2 separate regions of the Homo sapiens genome follow, and region 2 is linked to region 1. Evidence: promoter capture Hi-C in 16 types of primary human blood cells and fetal thymus (Javierre and others, 2016). All regions are on one chromosome and are shown on one strand. Each heading gives the region's core, a stretch centred on a gene start or on the middle of the fragment in contact. The rest is flanking DNA. Distances are from core to core; before and after follow the strand shown. Region 1 overlaps NUP85 (nucleoporin 85). Region 2 holds the start of CDR2L (cerebellar degeneration related protein 2 like).

Region 1 (6,342 bases), core at 3,413-5,912:
CAGACACCATGATGACTTGTTCATAAGGGTACTTCAGAGACAGTGAATTACTACCTAGTCACTACTGACTTTGAAAAGTATCTAATATGAAGCATCTACTGAGGAAAAAGATACTGTAAGTCATCTTCCAGCTCCAAGTAAAGTAGAGCCACTTGCAACTCAGTAAAAATGTTGAGTTTAGCCGGGCGCAGTGGCTCACACTTGTAATCCCAGCACTTTGGGAGGCTGAGGCAGGCAGATCACGAGGTCAGGAGATCGAGAGCATCCTGGCTAACACGGTGAAACCCCCTCTCTACTAAAAATACAAAAAATTAGCCCAGCTACTCGGGAGGCTGAGGCAGGAGAATGGCATGAACCTGGGAGGCGGAGCTTGCAGTGAGCCGAGATCGCGCCACTGCATTCCAGCCTGGGCGACAGAGAGAGACTCCGTCTCAAAAAAAAAAAAAAAAAAAAAAAAAAACTTGAGTTTTGCCAGGTGTGGCAGCTCACACCTATAATCCCAGCACTTTGGGAGGCCAAGGCAGGAGGATCACTTGAGCCCAAGAGTTCGAGACCAGCTTTGACAACACAGAGAGACCCTGTCTTTCAAAAAAAAAATGTTGAGTTCAAGAAGTGAGGAGTGTTTATGAGACCGAGCAGTGATCTCACAAGATTACTTCTCCATTTCAGGTGACAACCCCTCAACACAATTTGGTCAGGACATATATGTTCCATAAGAACGGAACATTCAGGGCCAGCACGGTGGCTTACACCTGTAATCCCACCACTTTGGGAGGTCGAGGCGGGTGGATCACTTGAGGTCAAAAGTTCAAGACCAGCCTGGCCAACATGGTGAAACCCCATCTCTACTAAAAATGCAAAAAGTAGCTGGGCTTGGTGTGGCATGCACCTATAATCCCAGCTACTCGGGAGGCTGAGACAGGAGAAATGCTTGAACCCAGGGCACTCCAGCCTGGGTGACAGAGCAAGACTCCATCTCAAAAAAAAAAAAAAGGAACCGAACATTCACTCAAGTATTTAACAAGCACTTCCTTGTGAGCTACACCTTGAAGGGGGCAAGACAATCACTGTCACCCAAAGGAGCTGCCTATCTACCTGAAAAGAAGAGACTTCTGCCATAACAGGAACTGCAAAGCCACCCCAGGTGGGTGCCCAGGACACAGGACACAGTGGTGCTAAAACAATAAAGGTGACTCCCCTTACCTGGCTGCTGAACTGGCGGCCATTGGCTGGATCTTTAGCAGCAACTAACAAAACACAAAACATTTTAAGTGAGCAATGGAACTCTTAGGCTTATTGTCATAGCTGAATATTCCAGGGTCTATGGCTTGAGCCTCTGTTTATTTTAATGAGAAAAATTAAAAGACATTATAATCTCTTTTAATTATGGATTTTTTTGTTGCTGTTAATGCTTCATATCCCTTCAATTCTCAAACCAAAAGCCCTCAAGTTACAAAATGGCACTTTCAACTGCAACACAGCTACCATAAAGGTCTCTGACATGCCAAGCACAGTGGCTCACACCTGTAATCCCGACACTTTGGGAGGCTGATGTCAAAGGACTGCTTGAGCCCAGGAGTTCAAGAACAGCCTGGAAAAATTAGGGAGACCCCGTTTCTACAAATAATTTAAAAATTATCAGAACAAAGTTCTCTGAGGAAAACTGGACAAAAACTGTTTAAATTAGCTGGGCATGGTAGTACACACCTGCAGTCCCAACTACTTGGAAGGATGAGGTAGGAAGATCACTTGAGCCCAGGCGGTGAGCTCATGACTGCAGTGAGCCATAATGTTTCTTTGCACTCCAGCCTGGGCAACCTTGTCTCAAAAAAAAAAAAAAAAAAAAAAAAAAACTCCAGGCACAGTGGCTGACTCCTGTAATCCCAGAACTCTGGGCTTGGTGGTGTACAACTGTAGTCCCAGCTACTCAGGAGGCTGAGGCTAGAGAATCGTTTGAACCTGGGAGGTGGAGGTTGCAGTGACCTGAGTTCATGCCACAGCACCTCAGCCTGGGCGACAGAGCAACACTCGGTCTCAAAAAAAAAAAAAAAAAAAAAAAAAAAAAAAAAAAAAAACAACAACAAAAAAAAAAACCTCTAAATGATTACCAAAAAAGTAAGGATTATGAAAGATGGAAAAATAAGTTTTGGACTGGAATATCAATCAAACTTTACCTCACAGTATTTATGCATAGATAAATACTCAAAATACCCACACACACACACACACACACACGCGCGCACGCGCACACAGTCCTTACTTGCAACCTGGTGCATTTCCTCCATACATGCTCTGATGACTGATCGGTAGTTTTTACTCACTCGAACCAATCTACAAAAAATGAAATAACACACAAGATGAGCCTGGAACATCTTGTAGTGCCACAAAGGAAGGAAACACTCAAATAAATGCAGAAATTTGCTGAAAGAAAGAGGAGAGCCGTTGTGAAGGAGCTCCTAACCTTCTGAAGCTGGAACAACTTGGACAACAAAATAAAACGCCACAAAACAACCCATGGGCTAAAGTTAATATCCACAAACCCATACTGCCATTAATTGTTGCAGATGAAATCTACTGGTCAGACCTTGTCTCAAAAAAATAAAAAAGATACATAAATGTATTTACTGGCCAGGCCCGGTGGCTCAGGCGTGTAATCCCAGCACTTTGGGAGGTGAAAGTGGGCAGATCACCTGAGGTCAGGTGTTTGAGACCAGCCTGGCCAACCTGGTGAAACCCTGTCTCTACTAAAAATACAAAAATCCCAGCTACTCAGGAGGCTGAGGCAGGAGAATCTCTTGAACCCGGCAGGCGGAGGTTGCAGTGAGCCAAGATCATGCCATTGCACTCCAGCCTGGGCGACAGAGTGAGACTCCATCTGAAAAAAAAAAAAAAAGAATAAGACAGGGTCCCCTGCCAGCAAGGAATTACAGGACTTTTGACATGTTTTTTTCCTAGAAGTGACAATAGATTTCTCAAACTCACCAATATTCTCCACTAGAGTCCCTTAAATCCAATAATCAGGCCAGGTGCAGTGGCTCACTCCTATAATCCCAGCACTTTGGGACGCTGAGGTGGGCAGATCACTTGAGGTCAGGAGTTCAAGACCAGCCCAGCCAAAATGATGAAACCCCATCTCTACTAAAAATGCAAAAATTAGCCAGGCGTGGTGGCACGCACCTGTAATCCCAGCTACTCAGGAGGCTGAGGCAGGAGAATGGCTTCAACCCAGGAGGCAGAGGCTGCAGTGGGCCAAGATTGCGCCACTGCACTCCAGCCTGGGTGACAGAGTGAAACTCTGTCTCAAAAAAAAAAAAAAAAACAGGGCCAGGCACAGTGGCTCACGTCTGTAATCCCAGCACTTTGGGAGGCCGAAGCAGGTGGATCACGAGGTCACGAGATCGAGACCATCCTGGCTAACACGGTGAAACCCCGTCTCTACTAAAAATACAAAAAATTAGCCGGATGTGGTGGCAGGCGCCTGTAGTCCCAGCTACTCGGGAGGCTGAGGCAGGAGAATGGCGTGAATCCAGGAGGCAGAGCTTACAGTGAGCGGAGAACGCGTCACTGCACTCCAGCCTGGGTGACAGAGCGAAACTCTGCCTCGAAAAAAAACAGAAAAACAACCAATAATCACTCTTGCACACACTCACACAGAAGCTGACCTGAGTCTTGTCCAGAATGATTCATTTGTGAAAAGCTTATCAAAGAAGTAACATACCAACACTGCCCATTCCCTAGCCATCCATGTGAAGGGACGCTGACAAAAATCTAACACAGGAGTTCTTAAACTTCAGTGTGCTGGAGATTTTAAGATCCAACCACGGAGATTTTGATTTTGATGATCTGAGGTGGGTCCCAAAAGTCTACAATTAACAAGTACCACTCTGATAATGATGAAGTTATGAACTACAATTCAAGAAAATCCTAATCTATAAATAGTACGAGAGTTTTCTGGTCTGTTGTCAAATAACGTCTGAACCATAATTTTTTAGAGACAAAACTGTTAGGTTTATATTAATTTTCAAATCTCCCAACAATGTGACCTCATTCAACGACTCTCACATGCTTGTGTGGCCTAAATTTTCTTCTTTAGAGGCTAAGTAAAATATGAATATAAATAAAGCTTGTCAAGCCAGCCCATCAATAGCATTTGCATATTCCCGCTAAGTCTTCCCATCACTGCTAATGTACACTGTCCAGTACTCATGCCTCAACTAGAACCAGGAGTCTCTTATTTCTTTACGCAACCCATAAAACACACAAAAAGACAACAATGTACTTCATTTGGCTTTCCACAGTGTAGTGTGGGCTTCAACACCAAACAGCAACCAACTTACTGAGATTTTCTGGATTTTCCAGTCAACTCTTCGTCAATTCTCTGGAGGCCCAGAAAGATTCCATGGGATTCATTGAAGAGTTTTCTCAAGATTTGAGAGTAAACATCTACATCCTTACGGATGATATAGATAAAGGGGCAACTTGGCACCATCTCTGATTTTTCTGAAACCAAACAGAAAAAAAAAATTTAACATCTATTATGATCATCTCCAAAAGTGAATCTACTCTAAAAAAATTTTCTGTGGCCGGGCATGGTGGCTCTTGCCTATAATCCCAGCACTTTGGGAGGCCAAGGCAGGCAGATCACGAGGTCAGGAATTCGAGACCAGGCTGGCCAACATAGCAAAACCCTGTCTCTACTAAAAATACAAAAATTAGCTGGGCGTGGTGGCACATGCCTTCATTCCCAGCTACTCAGGAGACTGAGGCAGGAGAATTGCTTCAAACCGGGAGGCGGAGGTGGCAGTGAGCCGAGATCACACCACTGCATTCCAGCCTGGACAGAGCGAGACTCCGTCTCAAAAAAAAAAAAAAAAAAAGAAAGCAAATCAAATGTCAAGATTCCAGTTTTATCCTTCTACTGGAAGGAGACTGTATCACTGTATCAGGAAAAGAAAAAGATTCACATCCTATCCAATAGCTGATGGAACTCAGGAAAATCAAGCCAAGGACAAGCTATGTCACTCTCCAGCTCCATCTGTGCCTTGGATGCTACGGCTCAGCTCAGCCTACAGAACTATTATTCAGCTGAATCCATGCTGTGGACACAAAAGTGACGGCCAAGCATCTGCAAGGTTCACAATAAGGGAGCTACTGATAGGAATTTGGTCACTTTGGACAAAGAAAAAGGGATAAAAAGCTTGACATTTTAAATATGAAGAAAATTTTTCATGAAAACTATTAATTTTTTTCCGGGATTCAACATCTTCAAGATCTCAAAAATCAATGAAAATCTAAAATAGCTAACATTTCAAAAATAAAAATGCCAAAATGCAACAGGATCGCTTGAGGCCAGGAGTGCGAGACCAGCCTAGGCAACAAAATGAGACTCCCATCTCTACAAAGAAAAAAAAATTAGCTGGGCGTGGTGGCATGGTGACCTGTAGTCTCAGCTACTAGGAAGACTGAGGCAGAGGATCACTTGAGCCCAAGAGGTAGAGGCTGCAGTGAGCCATGATCACACTGTACTCCAGCCCAGGTGACACAACAAAACCCTGTTGTATCTTGAAAACAAAATAGAGAAAATTAAAATAGTACAAAATAAATTCAACTGTTTCAGTCCACAACTAGTAAAATCTGAGGTAATAAACAGAAAAACAACCAAATGTGCCAAGATGGATAATTTGGAAGAAAAAAAACCCTACCTTTTTTGTTGAAGGAGGTTTCACATACCAGCATCTCCCCTGGACCCCAGTCAAAATACATTTGGTTCTTCTTGGAATTCACGCCTGGAATCAACTAGTAAAATAAGGCATAGAAATCTAAAATGAAAAATGTTCTTCTTACTGAAGTTGTTCCATTCTTTTTTTTTTTTTTTTTTTTTTGAGACAAAGACTCACTCTAACAGGCTGGTGTACAGTGGTGTAATCTCAGCTTGCTCCAATCGCCGCCTCCTGGGTTCAAAGGCTTCTCCTGCCTCAACCTCCTGAGTAGCTGGGACTACAGGTGTGTGCAACCACACCCGGCTATTTTTTTTTTTTTTTTCATTTTTAGTAGAGATAGAGTTTCACCATATTGCCCAGGCTGGTCACAAACTCCTGAGTTCAGGTGATCCGTCCGCCTCAGCCTCCCAAAGTGCTAGGACTACAGGCGCGAGCCACCGTGCCCGCCCTGCTGAAAAACACTTTAAGTGAAGAGCACAGCTGGTCCTCTAATAACACTGTATCCTTCAATAACATTTCCTTATAACACTGGTAAGAAAAATTCATTTTGGGCCGGCAGCGGGGTGGCTCCTGCCAGCACTTTGGGAGGCTAAGGCGGGCAGATCATCTGAGGTCAGGAGTT
Region 2 (5,930 bases), core at 2,001-4,500, 220 kb after region 1:
AACCAGGGAGCAGCTGGGTGGAAGAGAATTTGTGGGTTGGGAGATGCAACAGGCCTTTGACACCCAATATGGCTGGCCTTTGGCCCGTGCTCCGTCCCACCATCCAGCTCTCCATGCCTGGCCCCTGGGGCACAGGGCGGGCAGGGCCCACGGGAATGCCCCACAGAACCCGTGTCTGATGCTTCCTTCAGCCCCTCCCTCCCTATTTTCCAGCCTTCTCATGTCGCTCCATGACTTGGTACAAGCATCGCTTCCCCCTGGAATGCCTTCTTCCCTCCCTCTCCTGGGGAGCCTCCAGCTCAAAAGGGCCTTGGCATAAACCTTTCTAAGTCTCTGCTGTCCCCGTTGCTGGGCCTACAGCTGCAGAACCCCTCACTCTGACGCCATTGTGAGTTTGGTCCTATTTCTGTCTTCTCTAATGTAACGTGGAGTCCTCTGAGGGCAGAGATTATGTCCTCAGGCTCAGCACAGTACCTGGCCCACAGTAAGCAGACATCCAGCTTTTGGCAGGAAGCTCCAGTTTATTCTGTCTCATTTCTGCTTTCCCTCCTGGTTCCTGGCCTTTGGCTACCATTGGAGCTGCCAGGCCAGGCCAACAGCTGCAGACCAGCAGGGCCAGAGAAGCAGAGGCCTGCCGGGCCCATCCCTCCCGGCAGCCCAGAGCACGGCCACCCAGCGCAGCTGGAGTCTCAGATCCTTCTCTCTCTCAAGAAGCTGCACATCTCTGCGCATCTCCCACCTCTATGCCCTGGCTCCTTTCCCATTTCTGGGCCAGGAACAGTGCCAAAGCCTTCATTAGGGGTGCAGGAATTAAGTGAGACAGCAACAATATTGGCATCGGCCTCCCTGAAAACCATCTTCTCAAGAACTCAGTTTCTGATCTTTCTTTCTAAGCCTGGCTCTTCCAGGAAGCCCTCCCCACTGCCCATAATACTGTGCCACCAGCCGGGCGTGGTGGCTCACGCCTGTAATCCCAGCACTTCGGGAGGCCAAGGCGGGTGGATCATCTGAGGTCAGGAGTTTGAGAGCAGCCTGGCCAACATGGTGAAACCCTGTCTCTACTAAAAATACAAAAATTAGCCAGGTGTGGTCCCAGCTACTCAGGAGGCTGAGGCAGGAGAATCACTTGAACCCGGGAGATGGAGGTTGCAGTGAGCTGAGATCGCACCATTACACTCCAACCTGGGTGACAGAGGGAGACTCTGTCTGAAAATAAATAAATAAATAAATAAAAAGAAAAAAGAAAAAAATACTGTGCCACCTACACTTAGTTACAAGCCTGCCTCCTTCACCTGCCAGGGTATACCTTCAGGGTCAGGGCTGTGACTATTCCTAGCTCCCAGGATGGTGTCTGGTACTTAAGGGGAGCCTAATAGGTGTTCATGGAAAAATTTACTGCCCAGGATGGGAGAGGGGGTTGTCACAATGTGTGGATGTGTGTGTGTGTGTGTGTGTGTGTGTGTGTGTGTGTTTGAGAGGAGCTGTATCTCATTTCAGCCAAGGAGGCTGAGGCCAGAGTCCAGGGCACAGACCATGGCAGGGCCTAGTCCAGCATCCCCAGTCCCACCCTGGTCCCCCTGAGGCTATGATTAACCCTTGTCCTCAGCACAAGGACAGAGCCTCATCTGCCAGCCAGTCTTGGCCATGTGGGGAAGTAGGTCAGGGGCTTCAGAATCCGGATAGCTGCTGCACATCAGGGCAAAGCCAGCCCTCTGGAGCCTTGTGGATGGAGACCAGGGTGTGGGCACACCACAGCAGGCCACAATGGCACAAACTGCAGCAGACTTATGTCCACACCCCCCAGCTTGCTGGAGGCCATGGGAAGGTCACTTCTCCCTGGACATGTTTCCTCGCCCCTTCCAGCTCTCACCATCCAAGAAGGAGGCATCTTAGGGGAGGAGAGGATAGAACTGACTCCACTCCAGCAGGCCTCCTCTTCCTTTCTGTCCCAACAGCCCCACCCCCCACTCCCAGTGATGTCATTTCGGCCACCTCATCACCAGCTTCTAACCCCCTTCCAGTCGCCCTTTCTGTCCTCAGATGGCAACTGGGGGCAGCGGAGATGTATCCCTCTTTATTCGGTCTCTCGCCTGGCACACTGGCCGGGATTCCCGAACCTGACCCCCTCCAAACCATGAGCCATTTGCAAGGGGACCGGGCAGGGGAGGGCTAAGCGACTCCTGACTCTCGAAGGCAGATGGGAGACTTGACTTTCTGCTTCTTCACCAGCAAAGACGCGGTACCACTTCTCCCTGAGTAGGAAGCGAGTTAGGGAAACTTTCTAGGAGTCTTAGAGCTCATAATTCCTGTCAGGGACGGGTGCTGCTGGATTTGGCGTGAGATAACTTCCCTCTACACACAAGCCACCCTCCCAGCAAAACATGACGAAGGAGCCGCCTCCCGGCCTCAGAAGACTCCTAGCTAGCGCTCAGGCCCCGTAACAATACCAGGGGCGGCCGAGCAGTTGCTGCCTCCAGGACGGGGTGGGCGAGCTGGATGACGGATGCCCGGTCGTCTGGGAAAATAGGAAGACCGCCCCCCGCCCCCCACTTTTGCAGGTCTCCGCCCGTCCGGTCCGCGTCTTCTCCGGCAGCGCCCCCTCTCTCCACGTCCCGGTTCTCCAGACGCGTCCCTCCTCCGAGTCGGGCGCGCCCGGTCCAGCCCAGCCCCTCCCGGGGTGATAGCGCCCAACAATGGAGAAGCGGACAGGGGTCACCGGGCGCTCCCCGCCTTCCTGTCCCGGTCGCCCCCGCGCTCACCCTGCTCCAGGTCCTGCTGGTCGTACCAGGACTCCTCTTCCTCCGCGGAGAAGTCCTCCATCCCGGCGGCTCTCCGCATGGCCCCGCGGGCGGCGGGCGGGTGCTGCGGCGGCGCAGCTCAGGGCCGGTGCGCGCGGCCCGGGACAATGCGGCTGAGGCGGGCCGGGCCTCCAGCGTCGGGAACTCGGGCTACAGAGCCCGCGCCGCGCCCCCTCGCCATCAACCGCTCGCCGGGAGCCCACGCGGGGCCTGGCGCTTTGCCAGGGTCCGGCCCGGCCGGGGTCCCGCAGAGCCGGGGGCACCGGGCTGCGGCGACACAAAGGGTGGAGTGGCAGGGACGGCGGGTGGGACAGTGGCAAGGAGGATCCGGGCCCGCAGGCGGGTCTGGGGCGCTAGGAGCGCGCGGGTGCCGTGGCGGGCGCCCCCTGCCCGGCTCGGGTCCGCGCTGCTCCTGGCCCGCCCGGCGACAACCGGAGCCGCCGCTGCATCTTGGCGGAGCCCGCCTGCAGCTTGCGGAGCTCGGCTCCGCGGGGTGGGGCCTGCCGCCGCCGACCAATCAGGAGATGTATGCAAAGCTGGAGGCGGGGCCGAGGGCGGGACCCTCCTGGTGTCTTGGTCTGGGAATTGCTTGATCAACCCTTTCGTCCTACTTCCCCCTACGACCTATTCAGTTTATGTCTCATGTCTAAAATTATGCTATTTTAGAAGTTGTCGTCTCTCCTAGATCTCCTGGAAGCAAGAATATTGTTTCTCTTTCACAGCTGGCTACTCACTTCCTAGAACAGGCTGCTCACCAGTCGGGCGCGATGCCTGACTCCTGTAATTCCAGCACCTTGGGAGGCCAAGGCGGGCAGATCGCCTGAGGTCAGGGGTTTCGAGACCAGCCTGGCCAACATGGCGAAACCCCGTCTCCATTAAAAATACAAAAATTAGCTGGGCATGGTGGCGCATGCCTACTCGGGAGGCTGAGGCAGGAGAATCGCTTGAACCCTGGAGGCAGAGGTTGCAGTGAGCCAAGATAGCGCCACTGCACTCCAGCCTGGGCGACAGAGGGAGACTCTGCCTCAAAAAACAAACAAACAAAAAACAAACAACATGCTGGTCATTGATACCTTCCATCGACATTCTTTGAATGAATGAATACTAATTTACAGTTGCCTTTGGGAACTGCGTGTTTAAGTGCTTGTGGCTAGAAACCACAGGCTGAAAGTGGCAAAGTTTGAGGGTGTGTTACCTGCATTCAAGGTTCTGTTTTCCTTTCCTTGGGACCCATATCCTATATCCAATTATACCCATTAAAACTATACACACTTGCATCTGTCCAAGCATTCTTTCCTTAGAAGAGTGTTCGGACTCAAGCATTCACGTAACTCATTTTTATTGGGACCCTAATGTGCTGGTGCCGTTGAGAATCTCTGAATAATGTTGTGATATACCCAACGAATGACTTGTATCCAGAATACAGAAAGAACATCTGCATAGTCATAAGAAAAAGGCACGCAACCCAGTAGAAAAGTGGGTAAAAGATTTGACCAGGTAATTCACAAAAAAGGATACACAAATAACTGAATAAATATGCAACAAGGTACTGAACTTCTTTAGCCATCAGAAAAATGCAAATGAAAACCACAATGAGGTATCACTACCCAATCACCAGAGTGGCTTTAGGGAAAAAAAAAAAAAAAAAAAAGGCCAGGCGTGGTGGTTCATGCCTATAATCCCAGAACTCTGGGGAGGCCGAGGTTGGGAGGATCACTTGAGCCTGGAGTTCAAGAGCAGCCTGGGCAACATAGCAAGATCCTATTTCTATAAAAAAATTTAAAAATAAAAATTAGGTGGGCATAATGACACACGGCTGTAGTCCCAGATACTTTGGGAGGCTGAGGTGGGAGAATTGCTTGAGTCTAGGAGGTTGAGGCTGTAGGGAGCTGTGGTCATGCCACTGCACTCCAGCCTGGGTGACAGAGCAAGATCCTGTCTCAAAAAAAAAAAAAAAAAAAAAAAAAAAAAGACAAAAAATACCTAGTATTGGCAAGAATGTTGAGCAACTGGAACTCTCTCACCCTGCTGGAGGGAATACATAGGACGACAACCACTTTAGAAAACTGCCCGGGCGTGGTGGCTCATGCCTGTAATTCCCAACGCTTTGGAAGGCCAAGGAGGGTGGATCGCTTGAGGTCAGGAGTTCAAGACCAGCCTGGGAAACATGGTGAAACCCTGTCTCTACTAAAAATACAAAATTAGCTGGGCATGGTGGCACATGCCTGTAGTCCTAGCTACTTGGGAGGCTGAGGCAGGAGAATTGCTTGAACCTGGGAGGCGGAAGTTGCAGTGAGCTGAGATTGCGCCACTGCACCCAGCCTGGGCGATAGAGCAAGACTGCGTCTTGGAAAAAAAAAAAAAAAAGACTGCTTGATAACCATGAAAGCTGAATAACGTAAGCTGTTGTAGGTTGTGTTCCCAGGCAGCTGATCCTGAGATGGAGATTAGCATGCAGGAAGTTGATTAGGGATATCAATCATATTGGATTAGAGGGAGAAAAAAGAAAGAAAGTTGACTAGGGAGTGCTCTCATGATCAACACCTGCAGGAAAGGGAGGGAAGCAGGGTTGGTGGGGGAGAAGCTGGGTTGGTATGTAGCCTCTGCAAAAGCCTCCTCTGATCCCTGAAGAACTTTGAATCCAGGGTGACCCTTCAAAGCTATTCCAGGTATCATTGGGGGAGGGGGCCTTTATATCCCCCACCCTTACATATCAACCAGTCATTGAATGACACAGGTCGTTCCTAGGAGGCATGTGTGACCTTGGCCAAATAAGTTCTTTTCAGCTGAGACTAGTTTGCACAGAGCCCTGGCAGCTGGGACTGCCAGCCAGGGGTCCTCCCAGCAGCTAAGGGAATAGGTCCTTTCGTTCTGAAAGAGTTGGGGATACATCACAGCAGCCACTATACATGCATACCCTATAACCCAGAAATTCTATTCCTATATATGTGCAAGAGAAATATGCACATACCTTATCCCAAAGACATGTACAAGAAAGTTCATAGCCACAGTATTCATAAGCGCCCACACTGGAAACAACACAAATGTCCATCAACAGTTGACGAAGAATATGTGGCATGTTCATGTAATGGAATGTTATATAGTACAAATACAATGATCTACTGTCATGGG

The links. The method cuts DNA at HindIII sites, captures the fragments that hold promoters and counts their contacts. A CHiCAGO score of 5 or more calls a contact.
Region 2: a contact is called between the fragment with the promoter of CDR2L here and a fragment that was not itself captured in region 1, in 3 of 17 cell types (activated CD4 T cells, naive B cells and naive CD4 T cells). The highest score is 6.3, in activated CD4 T cells.

The regions. Positions count from the first base shown.
Region 1 is chr17:75,207,981-75,214,322 of GRCh38, reverse strand. It overlaps NUP85 (nucleoporin 85), which reads right to left. Exons shown (of 19, transcript NM_024844.5): 2 at 5,703-5,796; 3 at 4,338-4,500; 4 at 2,261-2,331; 5 at 1,204-1,247. Among named protein-coding and RNA genes, the nearest start is that of NUP85, 5.5 kb to the right of the region's middle. RefSeq lists an enhancer at 5,978-6,342. The HindIII fragment of the contact is 1,074 bases long and covers 4,126-5,199 here.
Region 2 is chr17:74,984,952-74,990,881 of GRCh38, reverse strand. It overlaps CDR2L (cerebellar degeneration related protein 2 like), which reads right to left and starts at 3,250. Exons shown (of 5, transcript NM_014603.3): 1 at 2,760-3,250. The coding sequence starts at 2,838. RefSeq lists silencers at 3,155-3,244, 3,265-3,344 and an enhancer at 2,911-3,412. The HindIII fragment of the contact is 10,272 bases long and covers 1-5,930 here.